Linked DNA regions of Homo sapiens: all the other regions are linked to region 2. The links are contacts of gene promoters, found by promoter capture Hi-C in blood cells and fetal thymus (Javierre and others, 2016). All regions are on one chromosome and are shown on one strand. Each heading gives the region's core, a stretch centred on a gene start or on the middle of the fragment in contact. The rest is flanking DNA. Distances are from core to core; before and after follow the strand shown. Region 1 overlaps ADK (adenosine kinase). Region 2 holds the start of KAT6B (lysine acetyltransferase 6B). Region 3 overlaps ADK (adenosine kinase). Region 4 overlaps SAMD8 (sterile alpha motif domain containing 8). Region 5 overlaps ADK (adenosine kinase).

What was found. Contacts are between HindIII fragments. The CHiCAGO score rates a contact against its expected background, and 5 or more counts as called.
Region 1: a fragment that was not itself captured here is called in contact with the fragment with the promoter of KAT6B in region 2 in 6 of 17 cell types (total CD4 T cells, total CD8 T cells, naive CD8 T cells and 3 more); the score reaches 8.3 in total CD4 T cells.
Region 3: a contact is called between a fragment that was not itself captured here and the fragment with the promoter of KAT6B in region 2, in 1 of 17 cell types (total CD4 T cells). The highest score is 5.5, in total CD4 T cells.
Region 4: a fragment that was not itself captured here is called in contact with the fragment with the promoter of KAT6B in region 2 in 1 of 17 cell types (neutrophils); the score reaches 6.0 in neutrophils.
Region 5: a fragment that was not itself captured here is called in contact with the fragment with the promoter of KAT6B in region 2 in 2 of 17 cell types (total CD8 T cells and total CD4 T cells); the score reaches 6.0 in total CD8 T cells.

What each region holds. Positions count from the first base shown.
Region 1 is chr10:74,485,246-74,490,855 of GRCh38, forward strand. All of the region lies in intron 6 of ADK (adenosine kinase), which reads left to right. Among named protein-coding and RNA genes, the nearest start is that of ADK-AS1, 41 kb to the right of the region's middle. The HindIII fragment of the contact is 2,888 bases long and covers 2,431-5,318 here.
Region 2 is chr10:74,824,732-74,830,290 of GRCh38, forward strand. It overlaps KAT6B (lysine acetyltransferase 6B), which reads left to right and starts at 1,869. Exons shown (of 18, transcript NM_012330.4): 1 at 1,869-2,054. RefSeq lists silencers at 1-44, 555-724, 835-934, 1,045-1,244, 1,935-2,334 and enhancers at 176-947, 948-1,719. The HindIII fragment of the contact is 8,590 bases long and covers 1-5,559 here.
Region 3 is chr10:74,459,213-74,464,656 of GRCh38, forward strand. The region is part of intron 6 of ADK (adenosine kinase); the gene reads left to right. Among named protein-coding and RNA genes, the nearest start is that of ADK-AS1, 67 kb to the right of the region's middle. The HindIII fragment of the contact is 3,502 bases long and covers 857-4,358 here.
Region 4 is chr10:75,113,954-75,119,610 of GRCh38, forward strand. All of the region lies in intron 1 of SAMD8 (sterile alpha motif domain containing 8), which reads left to right. Among named protein-coding and RNA genes, the nearest start is that of SAMD8, 5.1 kb to the left of the region's middle. The HindIII fragment of the contact is 1,565 bases long and covers 903-2,467 here.
Region 5 is chr10:74,557,185-74,562,962 of GRCh38, forward strand. The region is part of intron 7 of ADK (adenosine kinase); the gene reads left to right. Among named protein-coding and RNA genes, the nearest start is that of ADK-AS1, 31 kb to the left of the region's middle. The HindIII fragment of the contact is 208 bases long and covers 2,275-2,482 here.

The DNA of each region.
Region 1 (5,610 bases), core at 2,625-5,124, 340 kb before region 2:
AAGAAAATCACATGTGTATTGAAGGAATGAAAAATTGTTCTACCTCATCATTAATTAGGGAAATGCATTAGCCGGGCATGGTGGCACATGCCTGTATTCCCAGCAATTCAGGAGGCTGAGACGGGAGTATTGCTTGAGCCCAGGATGTCAAGGTTGCAGTGTGGTATGATCTTACCACTGCACTCCAGCCTGGGTGACAGAGTGAGACCCTGTCTCAAAATAAATAAATAAATAAATAAATAAATAAATAAATAAATAAATAATCCTTTGAAAAATAAGGGAAATTCAAATGTAATCCACAATGAGGTATCATTTTATACCAGTTGATAAAAATTTTAAAGTCTAAAAATTTCAAATGCTGCATAAAATTAGAATTACTGACTCTTACACACTTGAAGATACAAATTCCCTACTATCCCCAGAAAATGTTATTGCTTTTAGACACTAATTATATCCAATATCTAGAACTTAGTCTAATAAACTATGAACAAGGCCTCTACCAAGAACACTTAAAACATAATTGTGAGAACTTAAAATGTAAATGGAGGTGTGTTTTAAAGATGTTTATTTATTAGAAGACTCAATACTGTAAAGATGCAATATTTGTCCATTTTAGTCTGTAATTTCAATGCAATTCTGATTAAAATCCTAACAAGTAGGGGTGTATATGAGTGTAAATTGACAAACTCATTTTTATATGTTTTTGGAAAGTCAAAGGATAATAATAGCCAAGACCATCTTCAAGACAAATAAGATGGGAGAATTTACTGGTGATATGGTTAGGCTTTTTCTCCCATATCCCCAAATCTCATCTTGAATTGTAATCCCTATAATCCCCACGTGTCAAAGGAGAGACCTGGTGGGAGGTGATTGGATCATGGGGGCGGTATCCTTCAGGCTGGTCTCATGATAGTAAGTGAGTTCTCATGAGATCTGATGATATTATAAGTGTAGTTGTCTTTTCCACACTTGCACGCTCTCTCTCTCTCTCGCCTGCCACCATGTAAGACGTGTGTCTTCCCCTTCTGCCATAATTGTAAGTTTCCTGAGGTCACTCTAGCCATGTGGAACTGTGAATCAATTAACTCTTTTTTCTTTAGAAAATACCCAGTCTTGGGCAGTACTTTATAACCGTGTGAGAACAGACTAATACAACTGGATATTGAGTCATCTTATAAAGTTAAAATAATAAGACATTGTGACATTGGTGCAGTGATAAATAATGGAACAGAATAGGAAACCCAAAAACACACCAACAGGTATAGTTTTCCATTTTGATTGTTCCTTTCATTAGATGTTTAAAACTTTATAATGAATATGTACTTTTAGTCAAAATTTATTTACTTGAGAAGCAAAGTGATGTATGGATTATGGCCTCTGAGGCTATAATGTGAGTTTGACCCAAATAATGATCCAAATGTGAGTTCCAGTCCCAGTTTTGTCCTATACTACTAGCTGTTTGAGCGTATTCAACTGGTCTGTGGTTCTTAGTTTTTTTATCTTTAACACAAGATAATAAAATTACCTCTCAGAATTATGGTGAGAATTTGACATAACAAGTATAATCCTGCTGGCACATGCTGTTCCCTTGATGAGGGGAATTTGTTATTATGTTTCTTAGGAACACAAAACTTCTGTTTATTCTTGGTAAGAATTCATGTTTCCCAGATCTATGTGTACTATTTGTTATATTTAAGGTTATCAAATTGTATCCTTGGTAATGGTTGCCACTGGATCTTTTTTGGAATATGTACAACTCCTTATTCAAAGTGGCTTTCTAATCATGATTAGTTTTTTGTAGTTTTGGAAGAGCCATATTACTGCCCTGCATTCATAAAGCAGTCTTGTAAACACTGATTATGATAGTGTTTTGAAAAATTAAAAGCCTCCAAAATCACTAATTTTTAAAAAATAATGCAGTTAAATATAGAAAAGGATTAGCCATAGATATTTTGTAGTTAACCCTATTATCATTAACCTAAGTGAATAGAACCTAATTTTTGTACTTGCTAATAATTGCTATTAAGAATTTTGTTAATCGTGTGTGGATTGGTGCTTGAGTTCAGAATGAATGATTGATAGGGGACAACTCTAAGAAATACAGCACTTACATTAATGTTTTATTAAACAGAAAAAGCTTTAATGTTTTATTAAACAGATTTTAAGAGTTACAGTCTTAAAATCTTTATTATTTATTTTATGAAATATTTCATTTTGTTTTTTTTCTGGGCACTTTAAAATTGAGATGAGGATGGTAGAATTTGCCAGTTTATTTTTTGGCTATTTTTTTTTTAACCCATCTTATTTTGAGAACGAATTTAGTAATATTTTTCTCAACATCCTGAAATTGTGTAACCTGTAGAAACTTCCCACTGTCTTTTTAAACTTATTCTTAAATACCACATTTAATATAGGATAAATAAGTCACAAAGCTTGCTTATCAAAACAGAATATTGTATTCAGCTTTCCATCGGAGCTTTTGGGGAAGACATCACAGTATTGTACTGTCTCCCAAGATGCAAAGTATCAGGCTTTAAATAATGAAAATAAGGGAAATGCCAATAGAAAATTAGAAAAAATGTTAGAACAGTTAAAAACAGCATACTGAAGCCTGCATTATTTGGCTTATCTAAAAATCATATGTTTTCAACCAATCAGTACTTATAGTCATTCTATTTAATCTTTTAAGAAGGAGACATAATCCACCCTCACCAAGTGATTCAGTGTAGCATCCTAACTAATAATGACTTAATGTGTGTCCAAATGGCATGTAATGAGAAGTATGAAACATTGTCTGTATACTTTCTTGCCTAAGATACTTAACTGAGTCTAATCATAAAGTTCAGACATATCTTCACTGTGGAACATTTCTACAAGACAACGGCCTGGACTCTTCAAAAATGCCACTGTCATGAAAGACAGTAAGGAGAATGGAAGGAGACTTTCAGATTAAGGGAGACTAAAGAGACTTAAGCAAATGTAGTATTAGATCCTTGACTATATATTAGATAATACTACATCACTGCCACATTTTGTGCTTATATAGGAAAATCTCCTTGGTCAGTATGTATCATAATAGGGTCATAATGTCTGCAACTTATTTTCCAGTGGTTTGAGGGGAAAAAAGACGTGTGTGTGTGTGTGTGTGTGTGTGTGTGTGTAAAGAATATGTTCTAATTGATACATATACGTAAATAGCATAGGAGTGTTCATTTGTACTACTCTCAATTTTTTCTATAGGCTTGGTTTCAAGATGAAATTTGAAAAACCTTAAGGGAAAATATGTTTAAAGTATGATAATAACAAATTAGCACACTAGATAAACTTTTTATAGCTTTTGTGAGTTTTTTTCCTTCAGAAAATCATATTTATGTAGATAGCAGGATTAAAGAAAACTTTTCTAAATTTCAGATGTCAGAAATGGAGACATCTAAATTGTTTTTCCATTTCATCTCTAAATGCTAATGAAAACTGGACTTTTACGACATTAAAGACATTTAATTGATCTCTGTGGGATTTCATGTTTAGCTTTTTTCAACAGCTATATATTGAACATTTAGGTGATGAGATTGAGTAGCTAATCTTAGAGGCGCTCTATTGAGATTGTCCAGATTCCAACCCTGATCCCACAACTTACCACCTTTGTGATCTTGGACAAGTAATTTGAGATATCTGTGCCTCATTCTCCTCAAATATTCAACAGGATAATAATAATACATACCAGTTTCTTAGGATTGTAGTAATGCTTAAATGAATTAATATATTTGGAGCACTTAGGAAAGAGCCAAGTACATAGTAATTTTCTAAAAATTATACCTACTTATTATGTGGATCTTTGCTGAGGAAATATGAGTAAGCATACAAGACTGGACAGGCTTTGAGTAGTGAAGATGTTTTACTCACAAGCAAGGTAATTATGCCTTTTATATTAAAAGAAAGTTCATATGGAACACTCTGCTTATATGCTTCATCTTCTTTTCAATCAGATAATAAGTTCTCCAATGTAGAAGGGAAATGTCAGCCTCACACATAAAAATATACCTGTCAGAGATTATATAAGTGTCAAAATAATACTATCTAGAGAAATTCAGGACATTTGGATAAATAAAGGAATGTCATGTAGTTTGGATAGAACATAGAGAAGTGAGGAAAGGAGACATTCCCAGATAGAATAACAGCTCAATGACTTGAACAAGGATACAGATGCATGTAGTATACACAGTGGACTAGACCATTTATGTGTGTATGTACATATGTGAAAAAAAGTCTTTGAAATGTTTGCATTTCAATTAAATTCTGATTTTAAGAACTTATTTTCCCCCTGTATCCTGTGTGTGCTAGCATTCTGTTTCCTAAGGCATTCTTTCAGACAGACATACCTAGTCCTGAAAATGCTGCTATTATTGTTCCAGATACAAAGCAGGATGTCATAATTTTTTTTTTTTACTATTCCAACTGGAATAATATGGCTCAACTTAAGTTCTGTACAAAACTACTTAATGATAACTCACAAAATTAAACCAATTTATATTTTCTGCAGTTAAAATAGAATGCACAGATTTTTAAAGACCTAGGACACATTATTATATCTAGTTCCTGAAATCATTAAATGTCCATGGGGAAGAAAAAAACTTGTGTAAGTAGGAATAATATAATTGGATTTGCAATGCTCTCTTAAGAGATTCTTTAAAATCATGTGAAATAAGTAGAGTTTCTATGATTTTTTAAAAATCACAAATAGCATATATCCGTTTTATCTTTAATAGTGTTTGAGCCCATCATTTGAAAGCATTGGAGCATGTAACCAATATTTCTGAAAATGAACCATGGTTCCAGTCATAATCTATATGCTTTAAAATTCCTTCCCTTTATTCTTTCTTCCCAAATCCATGACATCTGAATTTCAATAAGGAAGAAAATAAGCATGTTTTTAAAATGTTTTAGAAAAGATTTTCAAAATTAGATTAAAATGTTTGAGGAAATAAAAACTTCTTTATGTATTCATTGTGATACTGATTTTTATCAATGTCTTTTTGTAAAAATACCTATATACTAACTTTGAATAGGTCCAACATATGGTAATGTGTTATGCAATTAATGATAATGTAGAACGATGTTAAACCCACAGAATATTGCCAAGGATTTACCAACAACCAAAAATGTAATTATATAGAAGAAAAGTGTAGTTACAAATGCAGTCTTTTGTCTTTTTACATTCTCTATATGTAGAGGGTAACAGAAATACTGTATCACTTTTTAGTATATGTTCTCCCAGAATAAGTTGCCACAATTAGAACAGAGTTTAGGAGCCTATATTAAGCTTTACTAGTTATGGTTATTTCCATAGTGCTAGTAAATAAGAGAAAAAAACTTTTTGAACCCATGTCTCATTGTAGGTCTCCTAAAGGAAAGTGGCCCAAAGTCCAAATACTTCAATACCGTTCGTCTCTGCCTGATAACAAAGTGTTTTGTTTTTGTTTTTACCCTCGGACAAGCCAGTCAGCTGATCTTTGTCCTAATTTGTTCCTGGTAGAATTGAACAAGATGTTTGCAGAAGCTTCCTCTAGTTTGAAAATTGTATTGATTTTTTTTCCCCATAGTAACTCACAG
Region 2 (5,559 bases), core at 619-3,118:
GGCCAGAGGAGCCCCCAGTCTCCCTCAAGTGGGCCTCAGGAACTCGGGGGGCCCAGGGGAAGCCTGGAAAACCGAACTTCGCCATCAGCCTTCCTTACAGCGCTGGCTAAAAGAGAGGGGGGGAAGGGCCCCCCAGCGGTCTTCCCCGCCCCCCTCCCGCCTCAGCCCCTCTGCCATCCGCCTGCACCGCCCAAGAAAGCACCCAGAACGCGGCTGAGCTCGCCAGCTCCTCGCAGGCAGGGAGAGAGCATCCTGGGGGGCAGCTTCCCCCTCCAGCCCGCGTCTGACATCCCCACTCCCACACAAGGATGCCGCCGCCGTGCCCTGTCCGCAGTCGCTGAATGTCACTGCTCCCTCTTCCTCCCGATCAGGGTAGACACAGCTCCCGAGGCGTCCCCCACCCCAAAACTGCCGCGATCGCCCGAAGGCGCAAAGCCTGGGCGAAGGACGAAGTTTGGGGCCCACAGCGACGGGAGTGGGGACGCGTTGGCGAGGACCGCACCTCAGTCCCAGCCCTGGCGGGCACACTCCCCGCCCCAAACGGCCCAGGCGTCCCCATCCTCCCGCGGACACCAGCGTCTCCGCCCTCCCCCGAGGGCGGCGAGAGGAGCCCCCCGGGGCGGAGGCAGGTACCCCCGGGGCGGAGACTGGGGCGGGCGGGGTCCGGGCTGCGCCCCCGGCCAGGCCGGGCGGGCTGGCGGGCGGCGCGGGGGGAGCGGGGCTGGGCGGCGCTGCCTCGGGCTCTGTGCGCTGCAGCCCGGAGCCGAGGAGGAGGAGGCGGAGGAGGAGAAGGAGGCGGCGGCGGTGGGTCCCGGGCGGGGGGAGCGCGGCGCTGCGGACCCGGGCGGCTGGCAAAGGACGAGGCGGAGGCTGAGGAAGGCAGCGGGGAGACCCAGGCTGCAGCAACAAAGGGCAGCGAGCGATTGGCCGGGCTGCAGGCGAGGTTAGCCGGGGACCCGGGTGGCCGGAGGCAGCGGCGAGCGGTGCACGTGCTTGCAGACACGGGCGAGTGTGGAGCCGGGGGGTGCACGCCCGGTGGGTAGGGGCTTGCTCCCCCGAGGCATGGGATGGCGAGGAGGCTGCAGCGACATCGTTCTGCCTGCACCCGGCCTGGGGCTGGCAGGGTAGGGGTGTGTTGGGGGGGGAAGGATGCGAGCCAGGGGGCGGGCGAGTAGTCGCCCGGGACGGGACGGGACGGGAGAGAGGGTGGAGGAGGGGGCGGGATGGAACGCTCCGGGCGGCGCGCCCGTCCGCACACTCCACCGAAGGAGCTGGCGACTGAGAACCTCGAATTTTAACTTCGCGTGCCCGCCCGCGCGCGCCCGCCCGCGCCCACCCCTAAATCCTGCGGCCGCCGCCAGCGATCAGCTCTCACACAAACTTTAGCTGCGGGCTAGGGGGTTTGGGGTTGAGTGGGGGAGGGGAGAGGGAAAAGGCCTCCTGATTGGCGTCGTCTGCAGCCAATAAGGCTACGCTCCTCTGCTGCGAGTAGACCCAATCCTTTCCTAGAGGTGGAGGGGGCGGGTAGGTGGAAGTAGAGGTGGCGCGGTATCTAGGAGAGAGAAAAAGGGCTGGACCAATAGGTGCCCGGAAGAGGCGGACCCAGCGGTCTGTTGATTGGTATTGGCAGTGGACCCTCCCCCGGGGTGGTGCCGGAGGGGGGGATGATGGGTCGAGGGGTGTGTTTATGTGGAAGCGAGATGACCGGCAGGAACCTGCCCCAATGGGCTGCAGAGTGGTTAGTGAGTGGGTGACAGACAGACCCGTAGGCCAACGGGTGGCCTTAAGTGTCTTTGGTCTCCTCCAATGGAGCAGCGGCGGGGCGGGACCGCGACTCGGGTTTAATGAGACTCCATTGGGCTGTAATCAGTGTCATGTCGGATTCATGTCAACGACAACAACAGGGGGACACAAAATGGCGGCGGCTTAGCTCCTACCCCTGGCGGCGGCGGCAGCGGTGGCGGAGGCGACGGCACCTCCTCCAGGCGGCAGCCGCAGTTTCTCAGGCAGCGGCAGCGCCCCCGGCAGGCGCGGTGGCGGTGGCGCGCAGCCAGGTCTGTCACCCACCCCGCGCGTTCCCAGGGGGAGGAGACTGGGCGGGAGGGGGGAACAGACGGGGGGGGATTCAGGGGCTTGCGACGCCCCTCCCACAGGCCTCTGCGCGAGGGTCACCGCGGGGCCGCTCGGGGTCAGGCTGCCCCTGAGCGTGACGGTAGGGGGCGGGGGAAAGGGGAGGAGGGACAGGCCCCGCCCCTCGGCAGGGCTCTAGGGCAAGGGGGCGGGGCTCGAGGGCGGAGGGGGGCGGGGCGGGATCGGGTGGGGGCGGGGTTCGGGGAGTCGGAAGGCGGGGGCTGAGAGGGAATTTCTGAGTGGGAGTGAACTGGTAGGAGCGGTGGGGGGCCGGCGAGGGTGTGAGGAAGACTAGTGAGGGTTGGGTGGGAGGAGAAGCTGAAGGTGTAGAAGCAGGTGCAGAGGGAGAGTTAGGGAGGGATGCAATTTGAGAGAAGTGGAAGGCGGACCGAGGGGTGTGTGAGGGCAGGTGAGATGATACCGAAGGCGAGATTGCAGTTGTCTGGGCGCAGAGTAGGTGGGTTTGGGTGTGGTGGATGTGGAGTAGAGTTGAAGCGGTGCAGAGTGTTGGGTTTGGGGAGGCGTTGAGGGGTTTGGGGAGGCATTGAGGCGCATGTGAGGAGCAGGTACGATTGCAGTGATGGGAAAGAGGTATCTGGGTGGATCGCATGTTGGAATAAGAAGGAGGTTTGCTAGCTTTGGGGTATGAAGTATTTTTTAAAAACGTGGAAGGATGGGATGGTTGTGCTTGGGAGAGTTTCTGAAAGATGATGCTAAGACAGCAGAGCAAACTTAAATATGAAGGAAGGGGAGAGAGGCTGCTTAGAACTTGCAAAATCTGTGGCAGAAAATCTCCTGGGGACAAGGGATTGGTAGGGGTGGGACAAGGCGGCAGGTGTGAAGAAAGTGGGTGGAGCTGTACAGTAATTTTCGGTGAATGTGATTTGGTGGACTGTGCCAGGGGTGAGGATGGGGCAGAGAAAGGTGTTAGTTTGGGAGACAAGTTGTTTGATAGGCTGTATTTATTATTTTTTATAAAAATGAGAAAAGGGTCTCACTATGTTGCCCAGGCTGGTCTCGAACTCCTGGCCTCAAGTGATCTGCCCACCTCTGCCTGACTGATGGGATTACAGACGTGAGCTATGGCGACCCGTGATACGCTGGATTCATTATGTTAAACTTGATCTGGAGTCTTCAAGGGAGTGTCCGGCAGCAGGGTATCCCAGGAAGAGACATGCACCATACCTTGGGATAGGACATTTTGCATAGCTTTGAATTTGCTAGTACTTTGCTGTGGGCAGAGTGCAGGGAGTGGTAGGAGATGACCAGGCAAAGGCAGAGGAGGGGTTAGATTACAAATGGTGTCCTATGCCCCATGAAGGAGTTTAAGCCCTGTAATTGGTAGAAGGTGTTGGGACGTGTTAAAGAGAGTGTTAGACAGAAGTTGTGAAGGGGTAGTGATAAAGAATTACAGATGTGGGAAATAGGAAATGAAGACCAACGAACCAAGTATGTTTGGGGTTGGAGGTACCAAGGAAATTCAGGGTAGAGCATATGAGGGCCCCTCCTATATGGACAGAAGGTGGAAATAGCAAATGGAAATTAGTTGTGTTCGAACAGTCTTAGTTCTATGGGGCCCCAAGAAGGTTTTTTGTGTTTTTTTTTTTTTAAAGTGCATTCTTCCTGTCTTACTTGTATACCCTAGATTTTTTGGCATAGCCTTGAAATAAAACACTCCATTTTTTTCTTACTCATAAGTTCTTTTTTTTTTTTTTTTTTTTTTTGAGACGGAGTCTCAGTCTGTCGCCCAGGCTGGAGTGCAGTGGCGCCATCTCGGCTCACTGCAAGCTCCGCCTCCCGGGTTCACGCCATTGTCCTGCCTCAGCCTCCGGAGTAGCTGGGACTACAGGCGCCTGCCACCACGCCCCGCTAATTTTTTGTATATTTAGTAGAGACGGGGTTTCACCGTGTTAGCCAGGATGGTCTCGAACTCTTGACCTTGTGATCTGCCCGCCTCGGCCTCCCAAAGTGCTGGGATTACAGGCGTGAGCCACCGCGCCCGGCCATTCATAAGTTCTTTACACATTTATCAGAATGAATTTGGACAGTATTTTATGTTTTTAAGAAGGAAAGGATAATGCACATGTTTTTTCTTTTCCGAGAACTTCTACTGAGAGTTAAAGGTTGGAGTGGTGAAGTGATGGTTTAAAAAAAAAAAAAAAGAAAAGAAAAGAGAGAGACAGAGGAAGATTTTAACATTAAAAGAGGAATTTAGGGAATGGCTGATGGTCATGACACGGTCGGCAGAGGAAGTTTTGCTTACTAGCCACACTTAGGCTTCTGAGTAGAGTGGATATTATGTCATTGCTATTATAGCATGTGTTTATTTCACACACTGCTTTTGAAGATTGGGTGGAAACTGTCAGATGTGAGGCATAGCATGAATGAAAGGTAAATAGCATGAGTATTAGAAAGTAGATGAGGAAGTTTAATAATTTTAATGTGCTTCATAAGCTCTCATGGACTTTCACGTATCAATTAGTAAAAGACGTAACTAAGTGATCTGGCTTTCAGTCTCCTAGTTCTCTACAGTGTACCCTCAGTTTTCCACGTGCTTACACATGCCTACATTTGTACTGAGAGAAAAGGAAATAGTTTTTTTTTTTTTTTTGAGACAGTCTTGCTCTGTTGCCCAGGCTGGAGTGCAGTGGCACGATCTCGGCTCACTGCAACCTCCACCTCCTGGATTCAGGTGATTCTCCTGCCTCAGCTTCCCGGGTAGCTAGGATTACAGACATGTGCCCAGCTAATTTTTGTATTTTTAGTAGAGGTGGGGTTTCGCCATGTTGGCCAGGCTGGTCTCAAACTCCTGACCTCAGGTGATCCACTCACCTCGGCCTCCCAGAGTGCTGGGATTAAATAAATAGTTTTATGTGGCTGGGTGTGGTGGCTCACGCCTGTAATCCCAGCACTTTGGGAGGCCGAGGTGGATGGATCACGAGGTCAAGAAATCAAGACCATCCTGGCCAACATGGTGAAACCCCATCTCTACTAAAAATACAAAAAATTAGCTGGGCATGGTGGCGGGCGCCTGTAGTCCCAGCTGCTCAGGAGGTTGAGGCAGGCGAATCACTTGAACCTGGGAGGCGGAGGTTGCAGTGAGCTGAGATTGCACCACTGCACTCCAGCCTGGCGACAGAGCGAGACTCTGTCTCAAAAAAAAAAAAACAAAAAAAAAAGAAAAATATTTTATGTAAGTAGGGATGTGTAAGCTGTAGTGATCAGTCTTTGTTGCAGAATGGTAAATGATGCGTGGATGAGAGAAGTGGGGTGATGGGATATTTCTTCCCTTTAATGCCTTAATTTGCATTTCCAAAGCACCTTTAAGCATCTTTTTATAGAACTCCCATGATCTTCTGATACCTGTCTTCTCGCAGACCCCAGAAAGAGAATACACCAATTTTCGTATCATCTATTCCATTGTTGCCG
Region 3 (5,444 bases), core at 1,358-3,857, 360 kb before region 2:
AGAGGTTGCAGTGAGCTGAGATCACACCATTGCACTCCAGCCTGGGCAACAGAACGAGACCTCATCTCAAAAAAAAAAAAAATTTATTTCCAATCAGTTGGAAAATGTAAGAATATGCAAAAATTTAACAGATTTCTTTAATGTGGGTTTTTCCTAGAACACCTTTTTACATTTCAGAGGACATTAGAGTTCAGCAGGACACAGTTTGGTAAATATTAGTATAAAAAGTTAGGCTCAGCCGGGTGCGGTGGCTCATGTCTGTAATCCCAGCACTTTGGGAGGCTGAGGTGGGCAGATCACGAGGTCAAGAGATCGAGACCATCCTGGCCAACATGGTGAAACCTCGTCTCTACTAAAAATACAAAAATTACCTGGGCGTGGTAGCACACGCCTGTAGTCCCACCTGCTCGGGAGGCTGAGGCAGGAAAATCGCTTGAACCAGGGAGGCAGAGATTGCAGTAAGCCTAGATGGTGCCACTGCACTCCAGCCTGGCAATAGAGCAAGACTCCATCTCAAAAAAAAAAAAAAAGAAAAAAAAGAAAGGAGAAAAAAGAAAAAAATCAGGCTCTCTGTAGTCAAAAGTCAAACATTTTTACTGCTAAAATAAGGCATTATTTTTTTTCCTTGCTTAATTGCCATGCCAACTTTTATTGGTTCTTTCCTGTCTCCCAATGAGTTAAAAAAGAAAAAAGTATCCAAATGTGTTCCCACCCCAACCCAAGCCTGTGATCACTTCTTTGTTTTTTTGCTTCCCTGTAAGGGTATTTCTCCCTATAATTATACTCACACTTTAAGAAGTAGGAGCCATTATACTTTATTTTCAAATTTCAAATTAGAAAGTGATTTGGGTTTGGAAGCTTGTTTCTGTCTCTGGCTATCCAACTGTTTCTCGGCTCCAAGATGTGAAACTGTTTCTTCACCCTAACGGCAAAAGGGCACCTGCTATTGAGCGTGCTTTGAGCGTTATTCTCCCAATAGTACCCTAGATAGGTAAGACATTTTTGAAATCAAAAATAAACAAAAACTTCTTGTTGTGATTTCTCTGTATACCAAAACATCCTCTTGACATAAACTGTGTTATCCTAATGACACAGACAAACACAAATTATCTTCATTTGGGTTGCAGAGTTGGGGGTCATTTCTTGTGCTTATGAGCCTGCTATTCTGCAACTGTGAGATTTCAGACATGTTCAATTTGTGGATTTTATTTTTTATTACACACACATGTGTAGTATTATTGCTTGTAATACCTTGTATGAATATAAAAAGATTGTCATTTTTCAGGTGTATATTAACTTCATTAATTTTTTACAATTCAAATGATGGAGAGATTCCTATTGAAGGATACTTAGCTTTTTCTAATAATTCAGTTATGATTTTATATTCAATGTAAATGATTTTGTCTCTCTGGGGCCAGATTATCCTATTTACCTTGACCCCCTACCATGACAATTTAAATACTGCATTTAACTGTAGTATATGTAAGATTGTCCTTAACAAATATGAGACTTGAAAGGTTGTTTTTGTTTGTGTCCTCTCCTCTGAAGTTTTCCTTTTAGGATGACAGCATACGATAGATGTGTTCTAGTAAAGTGCTTCTTTTATTCATGAATTACAAATAGCTTAAGAAAATGTTTAAAGTAAAGCTATAATGATTAGTCCTGGTAGTCTCCATTTTATTCAGAATGTCTCTGTCAGAAATTATGTCATCACTATGGACTGTTAGCCAGGAAGTTCTGTCTAGCAGATGAATGAATAGGGAGTACTGAGTTTTCTAATAAAAGACACTGTTGTAATATTGAAATACTGCTAATGGAGGTTGCCAGTTTTCTGTTCTTAAATTTACAGGACATCTTCTGTGATTAAAGTAAGGAATACTTAGAGCAAGTCCTTAGAGTAAACCAACTATAAACTTAAGAAACCGGAAATAGAATTTTTTTTTTTTAAACAATGCCATTTAAGTCCCTAACTTGTCTTGGTTCAGCTGCTAGACATTTGTTCCTTTGTCTCAAAAACGTTAGCAGAAAGCAATAAATATAGTTCTTGCTTTACTCAGCTAACATCTGATTTTATCTGCACATTGCTTCCATCTTAAAACTTTCTTACCTTACTAGTCTGAATGGCTTGTGTAGCCTAATACTGTTATAATTGTCAGAACAAAGGGTTTGATTATTTTGGCAAGGAAAAAAGCCTGGTAATAGTATTTGCATTTCAATTAATTGTTTCATTCTGATTTGAAATGTGACTTATGTTAGATACATCTCTGATCCTTCCCTATCTCAGTACTAATACTAATATGTTGTATTTCCACTACAATAGCATTACATCTTACAAACATTTATTTCCTTTATAACTGACGTAGAGCTTTCCACATAGTAGATATTTAATATAATTGATGGTTTGGAATTCATACATTTTGTAGGCTAAGTATAACTCTCCTACTGTTTCACCTACTTCCTAAGCTAGATTTATCTTTACAGGTACTAGACTTTATAGAACTAATGGTAAATTCAGTATGCATATCTTCTGTAGTAAACATAGAAAAACATTTTTGTAATAGTGCTCCCCAAATTTTAGTTTCTTGACTAGTAATGAAATATCTTATCTGTACTAGAGTTTTGTTATACAATAATGACAGCATTTTCATGTGCTATGTTATGGCCAGTTAACTAAAAATAAGTGGATATTTAAAATGGAAAATGAAATTATCCTGTTGCCTGAAATATCTTGACTCAGGTTCTATTACAGGTTGCATATGGTATCTGTTAGAGCTTTGAATCTATGTTGGTTGTTGAGTTATTATGTGCATTAACTATTGCATTCAAAAGTTCTTTAAAAGCATATGTCTGTTTTAAATCTTATACAAATTCCTTGCAGGTTTTGAGAGCAGTCTTTTTGTATGTCTTTCTTGTTTGTTGTTTTGTTTTTATACCAGAGCACCATGTCCTAAGCAGCAGTAAATTTAAAACATTGCTTAGGATAGTTTTATAATATCATTAATAGATTTTTATATTAGATAGTTTCTCTGAATTATTGACCTATTATAGGGAACATGGAAAAATTTAGAAAAATTAGAAGTTATACGGAGTATTAAGAAAAAAACTTTATATTTTGGTACTCCCAGGAAAACTAAAACCTCTTTCTAAGAGTATATTTTAGGAAATTTTCTAAAATTTTGTAAATCAACCTACAGAGAAAAAAAGTATAGAAAGTATTTTGAAATATTTGTGTGTATATGTGTGTGTGTGTACACAAGCCACATTTTCTCCTAGAACTCACTACTGAAATTTCTGAAAGTGATTCAATAAGATATATATTTCATATCTGGTTTTTAAAATCCATAGAATTTTTGTGTTTTGACCATCAGGTAGAGTCTTACAGTTTAGTCACAGTGGAATCATCAGCTTCAAAATGAAAGAACAAGATAGTCTCTTGGCATTCAAAAATTTAGCATACTTTAACTCATATTTGCTGTGATGTTAGGTAGTGAATTATTCTTGTTAACTATCTAGCGTCCAATGTGACATGTGTTTGTTGTTACCTACAACTTATCAAATAAACAGTTACCCTCTGGAATGATAAGAACTTGGGCTTTTTATGAAAAATACCCTCTAAATGAGGACAGAAATCTATATTAAGGATAGGCTATTGATTAAATTTAGAGATACACATAAAGATGACTCTCATATAAAATTTAGAATAAACATGAAAGTTTTAGCATGTCCAGACTTTAGGGATTTAGGCTTTATGAAGGTCTCAAGCCTGTCTCCTGGAATTCCAACATTGTGATGACTCAAATTTTATCAGTAAATATGGAAAAATAAGCTAAAGTTCTTGAGAAATTGCTATCTAATAAGTGATTATTTTATTTTTTTTCTAGTTTTAAAATAAAAAATCTTTACTATTTATTAGATTCACCAGTGTTTTATACTGGGGGTCCCCAACCTTTTTGGCACCAAGGACTGTTTCGTGGAAGATCATTTTCCACAGGGCAGGGTGGGGGAGGGGTGGTTTCAGGATTATTCAAGTGCATTGCATTTGTCGTGCACTTTATTTCTGTTATTATTACAGTATAATATATAATGAAATAATTATACAACTCACCATAATGTAGAATCAGTGGGAGCTCTGAACTTGTTTTCCTGCAACTAGACAGTCCCATCTGGGGGTGATGGGAGTCAGTGACAGATCATCAGGCACTAGATTCTCATAAGGAGCACATAAGCTAGATCCCTCACATGCACAATTCACAATAGGGTTCGCACTCTAATGAGAATCTAATGCCGCCAGTTATCTGACAGGAGGTGGAGGTCAGACAGTAATTTGAGCAATGAGGAGTGGCTGTAAATACAGATGAAGCTTCACTTGCACATCTGGCACTCACCTCCTGCTGTGTGGCCCAGTTCCTAACAGGCCATGGATTTGTATCCGTCCATGTCTGAGGGGTTGGGGACCCTTGTTTTATACAATTCTAATTGTGTCATTGAATTTCTTTTTTCTTTTTTCTCATTGTTAGGAGGCTAAAAACAAACTTGTCTTGTGCAGATTCGTCGTCTTTACCACCAAATTTTTGTCATGGTATCTTGTCTTTTTTTTACGTCTTTCTAAACTGCCTTAATCCTTGTAAGGGAATAGGTAAGGTGTAAATATAATTAATAAGGTGCAAGGAAATGTTATTAGAAAGAAATTAGATTGTTATTTGAAAACATACAGAGCCTAAATGTAAGAGAAATGTCCTAAGCAAAACTTATTAACAGGAAATTTACTGAATTGGAAAGTACTCTTGATTTTATGACTAATATGAATTGAGGTATTCTTATAGACACTCAGAGATTCCTGTACACATGTTACTTGTGTTTTTCCAAAACTATATACGTATAGTCTTTTTACAAATAAACAGTGGCCACCAAGAAAAATTACAGCAGTACACATAAGACATACCGTATACATGATACTCAACTTTGTCTATATCCTTTGTGTTCAAGTTTCTAGAAATTTTCATCTTTGTAAGGATATCATGTGAGTGTGCTCAAGGTTTGTTCTAAGAATCTAGCTGAGCACAGTGGCTCATGCCTGTAATCACAATACCTTGAGAGTCTGAGGCAAAAGGAACATTTGAGCCCAGGAGTTCAAGACCAGCCTGGGCAACATAGGGAGACCCCCATCTCTATTAATTTAAAAAAAAAAATTACCTGGACATGGTGGCATGCATCTTTGGTCCCAGCTACTTGGGAGGCTGAAGCAAGAGGATCAAGAGGATCACTTGAGCCTGGAAGGTCGAGGTTGCAGGGAGCCACAGTCATGACTCTGCACTCCAGCCTTGGTGATACAGCGAGACCATGTCTTTAAAAAAATAAAATAAGAATCTATACACAATTCATGGAATGATGTTGTTTTATAGTTTTACTGTATATTTGTTTCTGTCATAACTTCCAATATCCCA
Region 4 (5,657 bases), core at 435-2,934, 290 kb after region 2:
TGGAGTTGTACAATTAACATATTAGCATGTCTAATAGTTTTTTAATTTTTGTTTCCCTTTGTCAGTTCTCACACCCATTGAATAAAGAAAATCAGTTTTTGGCTAGGTGTGGTGGCTTACTCCTGTAATCCCACCACTTTAGGAGGCCGAAGCAGGCAGATCACTTGAGGTCAGGAGTTCAAGACCAGCTTGGCCAACATGGCAAAACCCCATCTCTACTAATACTATAAAAAGAATTAATCAGGTGTGGTGGCTCACACCTGTAATCCCAGCTACTCAGGAGGCTGAGGCAGGAGAATCTCTTGAACCCGGGAAGCAGAGGTTGTGAGCTGAGATCACACCACTGCACTCCAGCCTGGGCAACAGAGTGATATGTCTCAAAAAAAAAAAAAAAATCGGTTTCTCTAAGGCAGAAGAAGCCATCATGACTGCGATGGCAGAATATGCAGACATATTTAGGTAAATCAGTTTTGATTTCAGTACCATAACCCCCCTTCTGCAAAAGCTTATTCACATTGCACAGTTGCTTATAAACATTTTTTTATTTTGTTAATCATTAGATCCTCAATACTTCTTCAAAACTTTGCTGTTACTGATTAAGACATTTTCATGGCTTTTCTAAGAATTGAAATTTGAACACTTTTTTTGAGAAACTTAAATCACAGATGTTTCCATGAATAGTATTATTATTGTTTTATAAGAATGCCATGTTAACAAGCTATTCTTTCAAGATTTTTACTTCCAGGCCTGATGTAATATATGGTGTTAATTGTTGGGTGTACCTAGCATGCCCGTTAATTTATGGATGGAAATCTTTCCTGTCTTCAGATTCTACCCCCTTCATTTTTCATATGCCAGTGGATTGTTAATGAACTAAGATTGAATTCACTTTTTAATTTTAAAGCTTCTGTAGCTTTGATTCTCTTTGGACATCAAACTGATTTATACGAGATATGAATACAATTGCATATTCTGCTAAATTACCTATGAAGCTCTTTTGAATGATTGTGGTATTTGGTGAAAAAATACAGTATGAGCTAATCAAAATTCTTTTAAGGGATTTAGGTTATAGAGGAGGACTATACTATTTCATTCCCAGATTAGATTAAATGTTTTACTTATTTGCAGAGATGACAGGGGAGAGCCTTGATTATTTTCACGTCTCATGTATTTATATTTGTTTACAAATAAAGAGTTACTTATTTGCAAAATGCCGTATCTTTAATACTTGCTTACATGTGATTTTGGGAATTCTTTTGGAACCAGTTTTTGTTCTTGTTTTTGTTTTGCTCTAAGGGTATGATGTAACACATTGAGGGGTTAATAGTAGGGCAAGAACAGAGAAAGCCATTTGACAACAGATATCATCAGGACAGTGATGCTTACTTTAGGTCTTGTGGTTTTCTTGGCCTTGAGAAATCAAGATGTTAACTAAAAATAGGAGAGCATGGGCCAGGCACACTGGGAAAACAGATTGGTGTTTACATGCTACCGCTGTTGCTTCCTGGTAATTTGCCATATGAATGTGTGGGTATGGATTTGTAACAGACCTGTGATGTGAATATTCCTGAACCCCCTCCTCCCATACACACAGTACCATCATCACAGATCTGAAGCCTAACCTTTAGCTGAGTTCAGTGACTTCATGTTTCCGTATTGAAATGTTCTGTTATTGGGTCCTCACAATACTATAGAATGTAACATACTGCGGGCACGGTGGCTCACGCCTGTAATCTCAGCACTTTGGGAGGCCGAGGCGGGCGGATCACGAGGCCAGGAGATCGAGACCATCCTGGCGAACACGGTGAAACCCCGTCTCTACTAAAAATACAAAAAAATTAGCCGGGCCTCGTGGCAGGCGCCTGTAGTCCCAGCTACTCAGGAGGCTGAGGCAGGAGAATGGCATGAACCCGAGAGGCGGAGCTTGCAGTGAGCGGAGATCACACCACTGCACTCCAGCCTGGGCAACAGAGCGAGACTCCGTCTCAAAAAAAAAAAAAAAAAAAGACTATTAACTAAGAAAAACTTGGTTATAATAGTTTCACCACAGTGTTTCACCATAAAACAATGTTTTATGATATGTACCTCAGAAAAGAGTGTTGTGGGGCAGGGCAGTGAATTATATTTATATTTGTCTAAGTATTTTTTGGTAGTTTTTTTTTTTTAAAGATAGGGTCTCACTGTCTCCCAGGCTGGAATACAGTGGCGCGATCATGGCTTATGCAGCCTTGAACTCCTGGGCTCAAGCAGTCCTCCTGCCTCAGCTTTCTGAGTAGCTGGGACTATAGGCGTGTGCCACCACACCTGGCTAATTTTTTTAAATTTTTCTTTTGTAGAGATGGGGTATCAGCTATGTTGACCAGGCTGGTTTAGAGCTCCTGGCCTCGAGCAGTCCTCCCACCTCAGCCTCCCAAAGTGCTAGGATTACAGGTGTGAGTGTCTTAAATTTTTGAAGTGCATTTAGTTAAGCTTATGAGTTGTGGCAGAGGACAAGAGGTAGTAACATGAGTATCTGTTATCTTGATACTTGTTCTGTTGTCTTGAAATTTTTGACAGATAAATTCTAGTTGGAGGTGAGAACCATGGATTCTGCTAATTTAGGGCCTTCCTATAGGTTAACTGGTGTCACTGAGTTTTTGGAAATACTTGCAAATCTGTTTTAGTTTGGAACTTTGAGATTAAATGGAATTGATGTCAGTTCCATCAATATAATATTAGCATGAAAGCCAGAGATTTCCAAAACCATACATTAAAATTTGGCTGCAAATCCAATCCATTTTCACAATATTTAATGGAGTTTGAAGTCTTGAGCCAGTTTCTCATTTTCCATTATATTGATTAGATTTTGGATGTAGCATATTTATTTATTTATTTAGAGACAGAGTCTCACTTCGTTGCCGAAGCCTGGTGCAGTGGCGTGATGTCAGTTCATAGCAACCTTCGCCTCCCGGGTTCAAGCAATTCTCCCACCTCAGCCTCCCCAGTAGCTGGGATTACAGGCGCGTGCCACCATGCTCGGCTAATTTTTTGTGTTTTTAGTAGAGACGAGGTCTCACTATGTTGCTCAGGCTGGTTTTGAACTCCTCGGCTCAAGGCATCCACCCCCCTTGGCCTCCCAAAGTTGGGTTTACAGGCGTGAACCACCGCAGCCTGCCAGTGTAGCATATTTAAAAATAAAGATTTTACCAGCTGGGTGGGGTGACTCATGCATGTAATCCCAGCACTTTGGGAAGCTGAGGTGGGTGGATCCCTTGAGCCCAGGAGTTTGAGACCAGCCTGAGCAACATAGTGAGACCTCGTCTCTACTAAAAATACAAAAATTAGCCGGGTGTGGTGGTGTGCACCTATAGTCCCAGAACTCAGGAGGCTGAGGTGGGAGGATCACCTGAGCCCAGGAGGTCAAAGCTGCAGTAAGCTGTGATTGCGCCACTGCACTCCAGCCTGGGTAAAGAGTGAGGCCCTATCTTAAAAAAAAAAAAGGGTGGGCGTGATGGCTCACACCTGTAATCCTAGCACTTTGGGAGGCCAAGGTGGGTGGCTTACTTGAGGTCAGGAGTTCAAGACCACCCTGGCCAACATGGTGAAACCTTTTCTCTGCTAAAAGTACAAAAAAATTAGCTGGGCGTGGTGGCACGTACCTGTAATCCCAGCTGCTTGGGAGGCTGAGGCAGGAGAATTGCTTGATCCCAGGAGGCAGAGGTTGCAGTGAGCCGAGATTGCGCCATTATACTCCAGCCTGGGCTACAAGAGTGAAATGCTTTCTCAAACAAACAAACAAACAAAAAAGATTTTACCAAATTGATATGTTAAACTGCTAGCCTGGTTAGAATAAAAATTAGAATTTTAGATACTTAGCTTCTTTACTGGTTTGCTGTGGCATTGCAGCCAGGTCAGGAACCCTTTACCAAATTTATCACCAAAGTCCTATCATCGTGGAAAAATTTTTGGTATAACTGAGAATATAAAATGGACGGTAATATCTGTCAGATTCTTACTCATTGAGGGGAGACAGTTCTGGATTTGGTGTAGATAACTTGGTGCAGCCTGATAGTAGAAGTTAGTTTAAAGGCTATTTGGAACCAGAAAAAGATGTTATTTGGTATATATGACAACTTTTTTTGAGTGAAATTATAAGAGTTCACGGTTAGAGCAGCAAAAAAGTCCAAGAACTGAAGTGCAGCCAAGAGAATGATGATGTAACTGAGGAGGGAATTTAATTCTTTTAAAGATGCTGCCCTAAATTCTACTGCTCAGAAGTGGGACATAACAAAACAGAAAATCACCACTAAAGAGTTTCAAAATGGATGGTAGGAGTTAGTGCAAGGTCTTTGAAACTGTTTTGTAATTATTGCAGATTTTATCGATGTTTTGGAAACAATACCCTGTGCTTGCTAAGAAAATGCAAAATAGGCTGGGCACAGTGGCTTGCGCCTGTAATCCCAGCACTTTGGGAGGGTGAGGCAGGCAGATCACTTGAGATCAGAGTTCGAGACCAGCCTGGCCAGCATGGTGAAATGCTGTCTCTACTAAAAATATAAAAATTAGCCAGGTGTGGTGGTGTGCCCCTATAGTCCCAGCTACTTGGGAGGCAGAGGCAGGAGAATTGTTTGAACCTGGGAGGCAGAGGCTGCAGTGGGCTGAGATCACGCCGCTGCATTCCAGCCTGGGCGACAGAGCAAGACTCCGTCTCAAAAAAGAAAAAGAAAAATATCTTTCTATAAGTATAAAGAGAAAAGAGTAGTTTTTGTTTGCTGAATGAAAATGTTTTCATTTATGGTAAAAATTTTAAAATAGTATGGAAAAAAGTTGGATAATCCCAAATACTATAAACTACAGAGTTATTAATCACAAAGTTTAGCCATATATGCCCAAATTAAACCTTATCCTCCTACATCATAGTTTAGGCTTTTTGCTTTCATAAGAATTGTTTTTATGTTCTGGTTTATGGATCTGCAAACATGTAGTCTTTATTATGTGGATATTAGATAAGCTAAATGTATTTGATTTAGCTGTATTTCAGCTTCAGTGCATCTATAATATATAATTGCCCTAAGAAAAATTTATTAACTCTAGCTTTATATAATGTTTGAAGTCTCTTCCTCAGTGTTTATCTTGGGATATGGATCTTAATTTTTTTACGTTTTATACATCATTTGGAAGCTGTTTAACTTTTAAATTTTGTAAACTAAATCAGTAATGATTTGTTTTTTTTTTTTAATTTGAGACGGAGTTTCGCTCTTGTTACTGAGGCTGGAGTGCAGTGGTGCGATCTCAGCTCGCTGCAACCTCCGCCTCCTGGGTTCAAGCAATTCTGCCTCAGCCTACTGAGTAGCTGGGATTACAGGGGTGCACCACCATGCCTAGCTAATTTTTTTGTATTTTTAGTAGAGACGGGGTTTCTCCATGTTGGTCAGGCTGGTCTCGAACTCCTGACCTCAGGTGACCTGCCCGCCTTGGCTTCCCAAAGTGCTGGGATTACAGGCGTGAATCAATAATAATTTATACAAATAGCACATATTGTATTTATGAGTCAAGTTTTATCAGTTGTGAATTCCTTTAGGGGCATTTGAATGTAGGGCTTTTAAATACAATCACAGAATTTAGAATAGAGGACAGTTGCTTCAGCTGGTTGTACTCCAATATTTTTGATGATTTTC
Region 5 (5,778 bases), core at 1,129-3,628, 270 kb before region 2:
ACGTGTAAGAAGTGATTCATAGGTCTTCAAACACAAATTAGTAAATTTAGGAAGCTAAAAAGGCATATATATTTGACTACTGATGGGGGCAATATGTTGATTGTGTAATATTTTTATCTACCCTTTCATCTCAGTTATAATTTAAAAACCATTTATATACTACATAAACTATGTAATATTGGATACTTCTGTGTCTATATAATTTGCAACAAAGTAGAATAAATGGCCAGAGATGTTATTGTAATCTTATGGTTGAATGTTATTTCTTTTTTCTAGGTCATTGTTTAAAATCTGGACATCATAGAAACAGATAATGCAGAGAGAAAATTCTTTCATAATTCCACCACATCTCAATCTTTGTTATTAGTTTTAAAATATGTCCTTCTAGACATATTTTATTGTAAAAAGTATTTAAAATACTCATTTTATTTTATTGCCGCAAGAGAGAGAAGGGCATTTATTGTAGGGCACCAAGCAAGGAAGATGGGCAGCTCATGCTTAAGACCCAACCTCCCTGCTGGCTTACAAGCATGGGTTTTTAAAGGCAGGGGTACATTTCAGGAAAGTAGAAGTTACAGGCAAAATTGTTAATCAATACATAGAGGTTATACATGGGTTGGCTCAAAAAGGAGTAAGGTTTTGAGTGGGGGCTTACAGGTCATCAATGGATTAGGAGATTCTTTGATTTGCAGTTGGTTAAGGAAGAAAGGCTTTGTCTAAAAACTTGGGGTCAGCAGAAAGGAGTGTTGAGGTTTGGCCTTAACATAGGTTAGTTAGGATAAGGAAACCTGTTAATCATTATGGGGTGCTATGTCAGGGTCAAGGTATGAGAGCAAGCCACGATGCACTGGGTCAGAGTGACCAGTTTAGGAAATTGATAGCCCACAGGTGTGACTCTCTCCAGGCCCCTCAGGAAGCAATTTAGAACAAAGAGCAGCAGTCAGAGTTCAGTCTTCAGTTTCCCTTTATCAAAGGTCTATGTGACAGCAGTTGACATTTTCTTTTTTCTGTTTTCTTAAATTTATTTATTAAAAGAAGTGTCTCATTCTGTTGCCCAGGCTGGAGTGCAGTGGCACGTTCATAGCTCACTGCAGTCTCGAACTCCTGGCCTCAGGCAATCCTCCTGCCTCAACCTCCTGAGTAGCTAGGACTACAGGCACATGCCACTGTGCCCAGCTCATCATTTTCTATCTGGTGGGTATGCTGGCATGTTGGAGGAAGGACCTGGCGAGAGGTGCTTGGATCATGGGGGCAGTTTTCCCCATGCTGTTCTCATGACAGGAGTAAATTCTCTCAAGATCTGATAGTTTAAAAGTGTGTGGCAGTTTCCTGCTCGTGCTCTCTGTCTCTCCTACCACTGTGTAAGATGCACCTTGCTTCTCCTTCACCTTCAGCCATGATTATAAGTTTCCTGAGGCCTCCCCAGTCATGTGGAACTATGAGTCAACTAAACCTCTTTTCTTTTTAAGTTACCCAGTCTCCGGTAGTTATTTATGGCAGTGTGAAAACAGGCTAATACACTTGGTTTCTGAAAAGTAATTTGGCTGGCTTTGAAGTGGGGATGGGCCATGAGCCAAAGGATGCAGGCACTTCTGGAAGCTAGAAAGGCAAGAAAAGATTATCCCTTGGAGCTTCAAAAGAAATCAACCCTGCATGCACCTTGATTTTACCCTAGTGAGGCCGGGCTGGACTTCTGATGCTTCAGAGACAAGGGTTCCTCCCTCATCTGTCTCAGGAAGACTTAGGACTAACTTTAGGCTTTGAAGTAAACAGAAGCTGAAACATTTGAATGTTTGATTTTCATGATCCAGAACTCAAGCCTCATAGGTCCCATGCATTCCCTGAACCCAATAGGATGTCACAGTCTGCATACCTTCACACCATGGCAGTCTGGCTTCTTCCCTCTCAGGCCTGCAGCCTCATGCTCTGGGCTTCCCTGGAAGCTGGTGTTGTGGGGGCCTGCAGTTGCCACCCTGCTGTGTGTCAGCACTGCTCCCTGACGCTGTTCATCCACTGACCTCCATTCCTTGGCCCAGCTGCCCAGGCATGGCAGACTACACGCAACCTGGGTTGTGGGGACCAGGCGGAGCCAGCAGCACTAGGACCTGATGGCCAAAACACTCATTTTAATGAAATCATACTTTAATTCTGTTTTGTATCTTCTCACATAAAATAGCTAGATCTCTTTTCCTAGTAGTACAAACTTATCTATCTGCCTTATTTTGTATAAGAGTGGTATTATATGAATACATCATTGTTTATTCTTCTATTGAAAGCTTTTATGTTGTTTTCTGGGTTTTTGTTATTATAGTTCTGTAGTAATATGTCTTATGTACTTTTGTGTAAATAGTTCTATAGGCTCAATCTCCAGAATTGAACTGCCAATTCTTAGTAAAGGAAAATTTAACTTTTGATACATTTTACCAAACTGCCCCTTCAGGGGATTCTACCAAATCATATTCTCTGTTTAAATGTCTTTTTAAGCTTTGCCAAACTGATATATTTAAAATGGTATTTTATTGTTTCAATTTGCAGTTTTAGAGGTAATGTTGTAATTCTATATCTTTTCATATTATAGTGCATTTATATTTTCCTCTTCTCTTAACTCCTTGTTTGCCTAGCTTTCTTTTTCTTTTGGTTGGTTCAATTTTTCCAACTAAGTTTTTTCATGTTGTTTTTTTTTTTCTTTTTCCTTTGTATTTGGGAAATAAATCCTTACTTGTAAATACTTCTTGCAGTTTGTCCATTGACTTTTTTTTTGAGACAGGATCTTGCTTTGTCGTGCAGGCTGGAGTGCAATGGCATGATCACAGCTCACTGTAGCCTCAACCTTGCAGCCCTCTGGCCACAGGCTCCTGAGTAGCTGGGACTACAAGTGCGCACCACCATGCCCAGATAATTTTTTTAAAAAATTTTTTTGTAGAAAAAGGACCTATGTTGCCCAGACTAGTCTCAATCTCCTGAGCTCAAGTGATCCTCCCTCCTTGGCCTCCCAAAGTTCTGGGATTGCAGGCATGAGCCACCATACCCAGCCTGTCTGTTGATTTTATTTTCGGTGCTTTTTTTGTATATGGAACTTTTTCTATTAGTATTTAGTCATATTTGTTAGTCTTGTCCTTTATCCCTTCTAGCCTTTACCTTATTTAGTAATATCAGATGATGTGTTTCATATGGGTCTAATTTATGCATTCATTCACTTACAGAAGCTAATCATTTGAGTCCTAGTGTACCAAGTATCTTAGATGATGGGTCATTGCTGACTGTACAATCTAAGAAGAATCTTATTTGCAACAATGATGCTTTAGCGTAGCAGCAGACCAAATTCTCTAGGATGATTAGCAGCTAATTCTGAATATTGCTGTAAAGTCATAGTAGCATGTAACATGTACAGCAATAGTAAAAACATGTAACAGTTTGTTCCTTCCTAAAATTTTGTTAATTTAGTCTTTTATGTGTCCTTATATTTATAAATATTAGTTTTGTGGCTAAAATGTGTACATTTTTCCAAGTTATAGTATTGAGAAGCATAGCTAGTAGCATTTCACCCAACAGAAAAAATTCCTTTAGATAAAAGCCAAATCACAGTTGGCCTCATTCTACATACTGTTCTACAAATTACAAAATCAGTAAATGTTTATTGGGTACCTGTTTTTATTGCTAAGCTCTTGCAAGAGAAAGAGAGAGGTGGTAGGATTTTTTTAAGGTGCGAGCTATTATCCTATTTTTAAAGAGCTCATAATCTAGTTTGGAATGTTTGGCATAAGTACATCCAAAGGTAAATAATAAAACAAATGATAATTGCTCAACAATATGTAAAGACCCCCCTCTCCAAACCAAAACAAAACAGAACAACAAAATTGTCAGTCTCTTCTGTGAGCAGTATTATCTGCTGAGGACATGTTACTGGTCGAAGAGCTTTGGCTGCAGTCATTCCTAGAATGCAAAATGAAATCATCCAAAAAACTGAGAGTGGCCAGTTTTACTAGTCAAATGGAGTAAGTGGTCATCTGTGAGTTTGTGAATCTGTCTGCCAGAATATATTTATTTTCTTGCTTATTCCACCAGTTACTCCTTCTTGTTAAAGCTTTCACCGTTATTAAAGAGAAGTACCTCCTGGAAATTTTAGCCTGCTAGATGTTGTCAAACCTGATAGCACAGTGTGATAGGCTAAGATTCTTTGTTCATTTGTTTTGGATAGGGAAGGAAAGACACAATGAAAAGACTAGGAGTCTGAGGTGAGGGAAGATGATGAAGAATATGAATCAAGGGATCAGGCATCAAGATAACCGTTCATTTATTTAAATGTAGACTTTATCTGTCTTGATCAGGCATCAATATAACCTACATTTATTTAAAAGTAAACTTTATTTGTCTAATGTATGTGTTCCTAATCCCTGAATCTATTCATTTCATTGAAATTGATGAGTACTTTCAATACAAATAGTTACAATATTTTAAGATGTTCACTGTTTATAACATCATTATATGAGTCCATGTTAAACCAGAGAAGCAGAACCAGTAGACAATATAGATTTAGAGATTTGTTACAAGGAATTGGATGATGGAAGTATGGAGGCTGGCTAAGCGAGTCCAAAGCCCAGTCAAGAGGAAAGCAGGCTAGAAACCCATGGGCATAAGCTGTTTAGAGTCCCTCAGCTCAGGGAAAGCCTAAGCTCTCTTTCAAAGGGCTCACCTAACTTTGCCTTGTAATTTTCTATAATGGATTCCTAGAGTTTACCAACTAATATGACGGTCTAGAGTTACATTTAAGTGAAATTTGATTGTGAGATTGTATTCTTAACTGTCTATATCTGGTGCTCTTGAGCACGTATACAACCTTCTCGCCTTCTCTAGGTCCCTAAAAGTCATTTCTTAATTCAAAAAATATTTAAATGCCTGCTATGTACCAAGCACTTCTCTTGATAGAGTGGTGAGCATGACAATCTAGTAGAAAAGTGAGACAGGGAAACACCAACATTACTGTGGAAAACATAGTTACAGGGGAAGTAGAAGGACATTAGTCATGTTTTTTTCTTCATGACCCACTGCCTAACACATAGTAGATGCTTAATAAATGCCTTTTAAATAAATAAGACCACATGGCATTTTTAAAGGAGTAAGGACCTCTTTAAAAATAAGTATATATGGGGAAGGAAAGAGATGATGAGAAGACTAGGAGTCTGAGTCTTGCTACAGAACTAGGGTAACTGGAGCTAGTAGAAAAGCAAAGAAGCTTCTGATTTGGGGATGGATTCAAGAGTATATTGGGATGGGTGCAAACACTTTCACTGATTAGCAGTTTACATATTTCCTTCAAGGATAGTCTTACTCTCCTTGTCCTAACTTTTAACCTTTGCTTCAAATTAGTTTAGCAGTTTGTACTAAGAGGAATTGCCAGTGACCAAGTGAATATGATATACATATAAAAGAACAGAGAAAATCAAGTCTTTACTATGTTGCTGTATCACTAATTCAGGCTTCCAGCTAAATGCCAGAACATAAATTAGGTCCCTTATCAAATCTGGCACAAAAATATTTAGGATCCTTTTTAATATAGTACATGTGCTTTCAATAAATGCCTGCTTTGGCAAAAAATAAAACCAGTGTTTTTTGTGTCAAGTACAAGCTGTTGTACTCTGTAACTTTTAAACTGTCCTTGTGAACCAGGTTGAGGGTAAAATTAAATTTGGATTTTGTATTCAGTTTTACAATCAACAAATACCATTTTTTTTCTTTGTGTTGTGTTGTCTTATGGGTGTTTGTTTTATTTTGGTTTGG